Regions from separate parts of the Homo sapiens genome. Here regions 1 and 2 are each linked to region 3. The links are contacts of gene promoters, found by promoter capture Hi-C in blood cells and fetal thymus (Javierre and others, 2016). All regions are on one chromosome and are shown on one strand. The core of a region is centred on a gene start or on the middle of the fragment in contact, and the rest is flanking DNA. Distances in the headings are between cores, read along the strand shown. Region 1 has its middle 170 kb from the start of SYT10. Region 2 has its middle 97 kb from the start of SYT10. Region 3 holds the start of YARS2 (tyrosyl-tRNA synthetase 2).

Region 1 (3,035 bases), core at 5-2,504, 850 kb after region 3:
GACAAAAATGTCAGTAAGGACACTGAAGACATGAACAGCATAGCAACCAAATTGTCTAGTTGACATTTAAAAACCCTTCACTTGACACAGCAGAATGTACATTCCTTTCAAGGGCATGAACATTTACCAGTATAGACCATGTCTGAACCATAAAACAAGCCTCAAAAATTTGAGTGGATTCACGCCATGCAGTGTCTGTTCTCTTATCACCATGAAATTAAAGTTAAAATTAACAGGAGAAAGATACATGAAAAAAATCCCCAAATATTTGAAAACTGAATAGTATACTTTTAAATAACCCATGGGCCAAATAATAAGTCAAAAGGTAAATTTAAAATTTAAAGGTACTTTAACTTTAAATTATGTTATGTTCAATAATTTTGTATAAAGTTATTCTTTACATGAGAAAAACAATAAAATACAAATACAAAGAAAAAATTGTGGGGTGCAGCTAAGAAGTACTTAGAAGATGAATAAATAAGCTGTAAACTATTCATAATTTGAAATATGACTCAGAAATAAGTAGGAATGGACTTTTGAAATGTATAACATACGGAAATATTAAAATAATTATGCTGAATAAAACAAGCCAGACAAAAATAAGTATATGTTCTATTATTCCATTCATATACATTTCTAAAAATCCAAATTATCTATAGTAACGTAAAGCAGATCATCATTGGTTTTCATGTGACAAGGGGTAAGGGGCAGGAATGGGTAGAAAGCAGAATTACATAGCAGAATGGGACACACTTGGGGAGGTAGTGTAAAAACACCTTTATTATTATTACCTTGATTAAGTTGATGGTTTCTTATATGCACATGTATGTCAAAATGTCAGTTTGTATATTTTGAATATTTGCAATTTATTGTATATCAAATATATATCTAACACACCTGTTAAAAATAAATAATGGCAATAACTGGTGACGGTAATGAAATAAAATAGCATGACCTATTTCTACATAAATCCTGAGAGAGGAGACACTGCACAAGACTTCCGGTTGTAAAAATCTCACCCTAGTAAACCTCCCTCTCCTGGTGGAGTGAAGAAATGTTCCTGAGGAAACAAGTTAGCAATTCAAATATAGGTTGGTTTGCCACTGATGCATTATACATTCTGTTCCTCAAAGCTTACAGAAAATCTTCCAGCTATCATGTAGTTTCTATTTTAACTGAGCTTAGCATTTTCCCATTTGTAATGCTGTACTTTAATATCTGAAGATGTGATTATCTTGTTAATTAAAACAATGAATACTGAAATAACTTTGATAGGATGAGTCTTTAAAATGCGTTTATACAAAACTCAGTAAGCTAAGTAAGTAGATATAGATATTTTGTCTCTAATTAGGTGGTGGCAGGTATCAACCATTGTGAAGCTTGTAAATGATTCCTGGATTTTAAGGGCCACTAGAGTAGTTTACTGACATCAGCTGCCAAGCTTATTTTGGTCAGTGCTCTATACCCAGAGCTTAGCACAGCATCTGTCACTAAGTGAAGGCTCAGCAAATGCTTTTTGAATAGCTGAATGCATCACAAGTGGGACTGCAGAGTTTGGAGTGGAAATATCGTTTGCATTGATAGGAAAAACAGCAGCAGCAGCAGCAGCAACAACAAAACACCTTCTATACCCATGGCACAAAAATTTACAAAAGATTAAGTAATTTAATTTGTTTTTCCAAGGATGGAAAGATGTCTCAGGGTCACATGTTGATGCTAGACCTCATACTTTATATGGTTAATAGGGTGGTCTGTCACTGATATTTTCTGGAGGAGTTTCTCTGAGTGAAATAGTTGATCCAAAGGTGGTAGCATCAGTGAGTTGTTAAGAATAGTCTCGATGATTTCCCCTCACATTCAAGTTGAACTCCAGTGACTTTATTATGTCCTACCTACAAGGCTGTATAAGTCGTGGCTGTGGATATCTACCAACCTCAATTCTCACCATCGGTTTCACTTTCCCTGCTGTTATTTATCACACCTGCCTTCTTATCACTCACAGAATGTGCTAAGTGCATTCCAGTCACGGGACTTCTGCAATTCTGGTTTTTTTTTTTTTTTTTTTTTTTTTTTTTTTTTTTTTGAGACGGAGTCTCGCTCTGCGCTCAGGCTGGAGTGCAGTGGCGCGATCCTGGCTCACTGCAAGCTCCGCCTTCGGGGTTCAGCCATTCTCCTGCCTCAGTAGTAGCTGGGACTACAGGTGCCCGCCACCGCGCCTGGCTAATTTTTTGTATTTTTAGTAGAGACAGAGTTTCACTGTGTTAGCCAGGATGGTCTCGATCTCCTGACCTCCTGATCCACCCGCCTTGGCCTCCTAAAGTGCTGGGATTACAGACGTGAGCCACCTCGCCCAGCCTGCAATTCTTAATTGCCTTAATTGGAATATTCTTTTTGGTATTTTATGGGATTCTTTGCTTTTATCCCAAATTGAATTTAAGATTTAAAATACATACATATATATATATACACACACACACGCACACGCCTAGATTGTTCAATTTAGCTTTCACTTTCTGTAACTTTAAAACTAAAATGGGAAAGCCACCATACCTTGGAATCTGTGACAACTTGAAATATACCTGGACTTTTTTTTTTTCAGCTATTTATGTTGACATAAATGCCAACCAACAGCCATTATCTGTTCTACCTGAGACATAAAAGATATTAAGACCAGGATAAAAGTTTTTTATGTGATAGTATGGTGTGGGCATAGTTGAGTTTCATTTTGTGGGTTCATTTTATGAACTAATTAGCATGTAACTTAAAATGTCACCCATGTACTTTAACATTCTCTTAATTTTGATTTCACCATTGCACATAAATAGTATCTTCTTGATTCCGTTGTTTCATCTTTTGGTTTTGATAAAAATCTTGTCTATATTTTGTGAAAATATAAATAAGCCTCTAGTTTGGTGGTAACATGTAGACTGAGATGTTCACAAGCTTTAAAATATATATTAAATATTAAAATATATAAATACTTATATTTATGTATAAATGTAGATATATTTAAATATTTATATATATTTCTCTTT
Region 2 (2,700 bases), core at 122-2,621, 780 kb after region 3:
CTTGATAACTAATTATTTGGCTCTTTAATGTGTACTTCTGTTGTGATTATAGTTAAGAAATAGAAATTATAAAGAGCAAGTACTTCATGCTCATTTTTAAATAAATGTACCGAATTAATATATGATGCTGTGACTCTAGGCACACTTTGTTTTTTCACCTTAAACAAAGGTATGATTTATGTAAATTTAAAACAATGGTAAGAGTTTCTAATGTACATAGGCAGACATCCTTAAACATGGAGATTTCCTTAATAGATGTAATTATTTTTTACAAAAGGGTTTTAAGATAGCCAATTAAATTCCAGAAAGGTGTATTTTAGTTTGATAGGTGTTCTTTTTAACTTAGCTACTGTTTCTTAGCTAAAATTACTGAGTTAAGGGTGGAACCCATCAAGGAATAGGGCAAAGAAGGCATTCCCTAGGCCTGGACTCAGCATGGATAGATCTGAAAAAGAAGCAAGCCTATTTTACCTGAGGGCCTACCTTTTATAAGCACTTTCTCTAGGATAGTTTTCTTTTCACCTTCGGGGCAGGATAGTAACTAAGCCAAAAGGTTAGCAGATTTAATTTTTCTTATCAGTTAGTCACTTAAGCTTTTTATTTGTTTTTAAATAAAAATATTGAAATCGTTTTAAAAGCTTCTGCCTCTCAATAGGCATCCCTAGATAAGACACTAGTTTGAGAGCCCTCATTTTCAAATGTGCTTCTTCAGTACAGTTTGTTCATTTGGAATCTTCCACTGTAAGTAATCTTTAGTAAGATTTTACGATTTCTCTAAGACTTTGCTGCTTCCAGGGCCTAATACTTATTTATGCATGTGTAAGCTGGAAGGTACTCAGTTCTCCAGAAACTAAGGATTCCATTTTTACCTCACATATTTACCTTGGTTTTCAGATCTCCTTGATTAACTTAGCCAATGATTTTTTTCCTACCCAAGCATGCAAGAAAAAGAAAGGTGGTAGAACACAAAAATTCCTGCAAACTTTTAAAAGCCAAAGTTTATACCCTCTGCGATACTGCCATTTACTACCAGTTTCTTTCTGATCCAGTCAGACATAAGAGGCCTCTTTTATGGATCTAAGCCAGTTAATATAGAATCCAATCCTGGACTCAGTCCAGTTTCTGTCACAACTTCCAAACCCAGTTTGGATCAGAATTTGTTCAAAGAAACTTGGAGAGCTCAAAACAAAACTCTATGGGGCTTCAGAGTCTGAGAGAGAACTTACCATGATCCCAGTGCTGTGAGAGAGCAATGGAGACAAATGGGTGCAGTGGGTACCTTTCTTGGTCACTCAGCACTCCTGGGGGTCATTAGAAGCTGTACTTCAGATCCCACTTCTGACACATCTGTGAAAAGAAAATTCTTAGCTGAATAAAATTTAACAGAGTTTAATTGAGCAAAGAATGATTCACGAATTTGGCAGCCTCTTGAGCCAGAGGAGGCTCAGAGAGACCCTCTAGGCACACTTTTCTAATGGCACTTTTGCTCTTTTTGCACTTGGGTATTCTAGGTAAGTACTATTTTCTCTCCCCTCTGTGTTCTTCTATTCCTACCCCAAAGCAATCATTGCTTACCTTGTGTCTGTCATCAATTTATTCTTTCCTCTGACTACCCGTCTTTAATCCACAACTGTCCCCTGGACGATTTCCCCAGAGACCAGCTCTGTCATTACCCAGGGCTGTGTTTGGCAGTTAGATTTTGGACGTGTAGAATCCTGAAGGTGTTGATGATATTGCTGATACATGTATAATTTAGGGAAACCATAGATTCTCTCCCTCAATAATAATACCATAACACCACACAGCTTTATTAGGTGCACAGACTTAACTTTGATTCTATTTGAAGCTCTCCTTAAAACAGATCTTTTGCCTTTTTTTTTTTAACCTATTCCTTAGTTTGTTGAAATCAAAAATTTCATGGTGCCACCTCTCTCATCTTCCCTGCCTTCATTCAAAAACACATTGTTAAGGGTTCATGGGCAGCATGGCAAATCAGATTTTAATTACTTAACTGCTTCATGTGATAGTCTTATCAGTAACATGTTCATGTTCTAATAGAGCTTTGATCAATTTAATAAGCAGTCACACTTCATAAGGATTAAATGTAAGCTTTCCTCCCCAAAAAATTGTTACCAACAGTGCCTTGTCAAATCCCTTTCCATCTGGAGAAGGTGCTCCCTTAGAAGCATGGCAATCTGATTTCTAGCCTTTTGCTAGAAATAAATACCATGTTTCTAGCCATTTGCTAGAAATAAATACCATATTTCTAGCCATTTGCTAGAAATAAATACCATAAATAAATACCATAAGACTCCCCCAACTTTGCATCCCTCCTTGACACTTTATTTTTTAATTTTTAATTTATTGTTATATTTTTTTTTTGGTGGTGGGTGTTTGTCTTTTTACTTTAAGTTCTGGGTTACATGTGCAGAATGTGCAGTTTTGTTACACGTGCCCAGGTGGTTTGCTGCAACCATCAACCCGTCACCTACATTAGGTATTTCTCCTAATGTTATCACTCCCCTAACCCCCCCACCCACCGACAGGCCCAGTGTGTGATGTTCCCCTCCCTGTGTCCATGTGTTCTTGCCTGCTAAGATGACTCTCTTCCTCTGTCCTTGATCATATTCCCTGCATCCTGACTATTCTCCACCTCCTCCTCAAGGATTTTGCTTTACCTATTCTCCCTTAAAATATTAT
Region 3 (2,974 bases), core at 404-2,903:
TACTCTATTCATTCTGAACCTCATGAGTGGTTCCAGGCAGGTTCTAGGCAGGCCAAGGGGAAGTGCTACATAACAATGGACTAGAGATTTTGAAAGGCTGAGTGGGAAGGAGAAAACTGGGTGAAGGGGTGTCAGGAAGAGACACTAAAGGAAATCTTCTAAACGCCTTTTAAACATGTGCTTTGCTCTGTTGCACATGAGCTAGCCCTATCCTTCACCTCTCTCAAGAAAATGCTATTAGACCCGCATTACTTGTCAATTATTTGGAGTTGAAAAAACTTTTTGAGATACCAACCAAGGACTAACACTAGTTTCATGGAGGGTGCAGAGCTAAAGCAGAGGCTAGCTACTCAAGGAGGCCCAGTCACGTTCTGGTATAAACACACAAAAGCAGTTTCTCTAATTAGAGAGGACGACTTAGGCGAAGCAAAACAGACCGACCAAATCTTCACTAGTGGTCTGTTTCCCTTTTTTTTTTTTTTTTTTTTGAGACGGAGTCTCCCTCTGTTGCCCCAGGCTGGAGTGCAGTGGCGCGATCTCGGCTCACTGAAACCTTCGCCTCCCGGGTTCAAGAGATTCTCCTGCCTCAGCCTCCCGAATAGCTGGGATTACAGGCGTGCATCACCACGCCCAGCTAATTTTTAGAATACACCGTTTACTCTTAATACCCTTAATTCAGCCCTTTAATTCTTATTAGCCAGTGTTATTAACGCCATTATAGAGCCTTAATGGGGATAAAACCAACAAGAGCTGGAACGAAGGGCAGCAACTACAATCCTAAGAGTGAATCACAGGCTACTAGTGTGTAAATTATTTGGTCCCAGGATTTCCCCAAGGTTTAAAGGCACTTACTTGTTGATGAACTCATATCCGGACATGATGTTGCCTAGTTGATCAGATCCGCCCAGCTGGACCCTGCATCCATAACGCTGGAAGAGGTAATAGAAGTCATAGGCCTGGAGCACCTGGTAAAAGAACTCGGCCAAGCTCATGCCCTCGGGGCTCTTGAGCCGCAGCTGCACGCTCTGCCGGCTCAGCAGCGTCCCCATGCGGAAGTGACCCCCCACTGCCGCCAGGAAGTCCACCAGGTGCTGCTTCTGGTACCAGGCCGAGTTGTCCAGCACAGTGAAGCTGCCCCAGGAGCGCCCATCAGTGAAAAGCTGCTGGTGATTAGCCGCCAGGGCCTCAAGCCCTAGGCGCAGAGCTCGCGCGTTGGCTCGCACGCGCTCTGTCTCCAGCGCCTCGCGTTCCTTGGTACGGCCGCTCGGGTCTCCCAGGCGCGCCGTGGCGCCTCCCACCAGCGCGATCACGTTGTGGCCCGCTCGCTGCAAATGAAACAGGCCCAGCAGCGCAAGTAGATGACCCACATGAAGCGAGTCTGCCGTGGGGTCGAAGCCACAGTAAATGGTTTGGGGAAAACTCGCCGTGCCACGGTCGAAGAGCTCTGGGAGCTCTATTTTCGTCCCCGTCTCCGGGAAGAAGTCCTTGAACAGACCTCGAGCCTTCTGCGCTGCCAGTAACCCCTGAGCGCCCGAGTGGGCCTTACGCAGCCCCAAGGGCAACAATACTGAGAGATTTAGGGTACCAGACCACCGGCCCCAGGAAAAGGACCGCAAGATGGGCGCCGCCATCTTGGTAGCGGCACGAAGGGAATGCTGGGATTGCAGAGGCTCCCACCACACCCACCTACTTACAGCTCCTAGGGAAGGTGCTTCAGTGTTTTTCTGCGCATGCCCGAGACGGTTACGTAGTTACGGAGCTTGCGCTCTCAGCAGTTGAGTCCCGACTCCAAGTGGCGATTCCGCCTCAGAGCCGTCGCCTTACGTTCCCTTAAACTTAATTTTTCCATCAGCAGTGTGGATCTGCTTATGATAGTTCCTACCTCATAAGGCTGTTGTGAGCCTTAAAAATTAAAGCATTTGGCACATAACGCTTCACAAATGCTAACTTGTATTTACATTTTCACGTAAAAAGATTGTGATGCGCAAGTTCTTTGAAGTCTTGGTTCCATGCAAAAAGCTGTTCACAGAGGTTGAGAAAGGTTAGGAATTGGTTTAAGTTCGCGGAGAGATAGGGAGTTGCTGCTGAGACGCAAGCAATTTCATAGTACCGATTCCCTAATTGCACCTCGTCCCCAGTATTCATCGGCTCTTCCAGGAGGTGGCAGTCTTGTCCAAGGTATAGCAAGAAAAACTCAGTGCAATAAAGTACATGCATCAAGTCCTGTGGTTTATTTATTTTAAATACAGTTAACTAGGTTGGGACACAGCTTAGCATGAGTGGATTCAAGTTAGTAATCACATCGTGCAGCGTGACAGGTGCTCTGAATACTGACCAGGGATGAGGTTCTTATTGGCAGCTGGCTGGCAGGTGATCTAGCTTCAAAATCCCATGTTAGAGCCTGATTTCTAGGACCGCTTTCAAAATCGTCTTAGGTAGAATTCCCTGGACTCTGAGTTGGGGGGGAGACTGGTTTGCAGGAGGGTAATTGGAGTGTGCTCTTAAGAACAACACCTATAATGGAGTGAGGGAGGCCGGGTTGGGCGGAGGGAGAAAGAAGTTGAACTGTGAACAATTTGTAATAGAGGCCTCAGGCAATCCAGTAAGGGCTCTGGAGCCGGGATTTCCTTTCAGAGTCATCCTGAATTGAGGCCAGGGGGCAGACCTTTAGACCCTCTTACTGACTGCTCATTAAATGTGGGATGTTTCTGGGGAGGAAGCAAAACGCTGGGTTAAGGCTTTTGGAGAGTGAGATGTGCAGGAAGGGACTCAGCTGTGAGCAATAAGCAACCAACACTCCCAGCAGCTGGGGGATTGAGTGCCTTGGTCCTGTGACTGGGATCTGGGCCATGTTCCAAATCATTCCCTACAGGACTTTTCCATTTTTTAACGTTATAAAGTTATCTAACAAAATGAAAACTTATTTTAATAATTAGTTTCTTTGCATGTATAATTATCAGTGAATTAGTTTCTC

The links. The method cuts DNA at HindIII sites, captures the fragments that hold promoters and counts their contacts. A CHiCAGO score of 5 or more calls a contact.
Region 1: a contact is called between a fragment that was not itself captured here and the fragment with the promoter of YARS2 in region 3, in 1 of 17 cell types (monocytes). The highest score is 7.5, in monocytes.
Region 2: a contact is called between a fragment that was not itself captured here and the fragment with the promoter of YARS2 in region 3, in 1 of 17 cell types (M0 macrophages). The highest score is 5.4, in M0 macrophages.

What each region holds. Positions count from the first base shown.
Region 1 is chr12:33,604,945-33,607,979 of GRCh38, forward strand. No RefSeq gene overlaps it. Among named protein-coding and RNA genes, the nearest start is that of SYT10, 170 kb to the left of the region's middle. The HindIII fragment of the contact is 246 bases long and covers 1,132-1,377 here.
Region 2 is chr12:33,535,271-33,537,970 of GRCh38, forward strand. No RefSeq gene overlaps it. Among named protein-coding and RNA genes, the nearest start is that of SYT10, 97 kb to the left of the region's middle. The HindIII fragment of the contact is 1,471 bases long and covers 637-2,107 here.
Region 3 is chr12:32,754,244-32,757,217 of GRCh38, forward strand. YARS2 (tyrosyl-tRNA synthetase 2) reads right to left here and starts at 1,654. Exons shown (of 5, transcript NM_001040436.3): 1 at 853-1,654. The coding sequence starts at 1,631. RefSeq lists enhancers at 594-1,233, 790-949, 1,234-1,873, 1,320-1,419, 1,440-1,669 and 1 more. The HindIII fragment of the contact is 6,832 bases long and covers 1-2,974 here.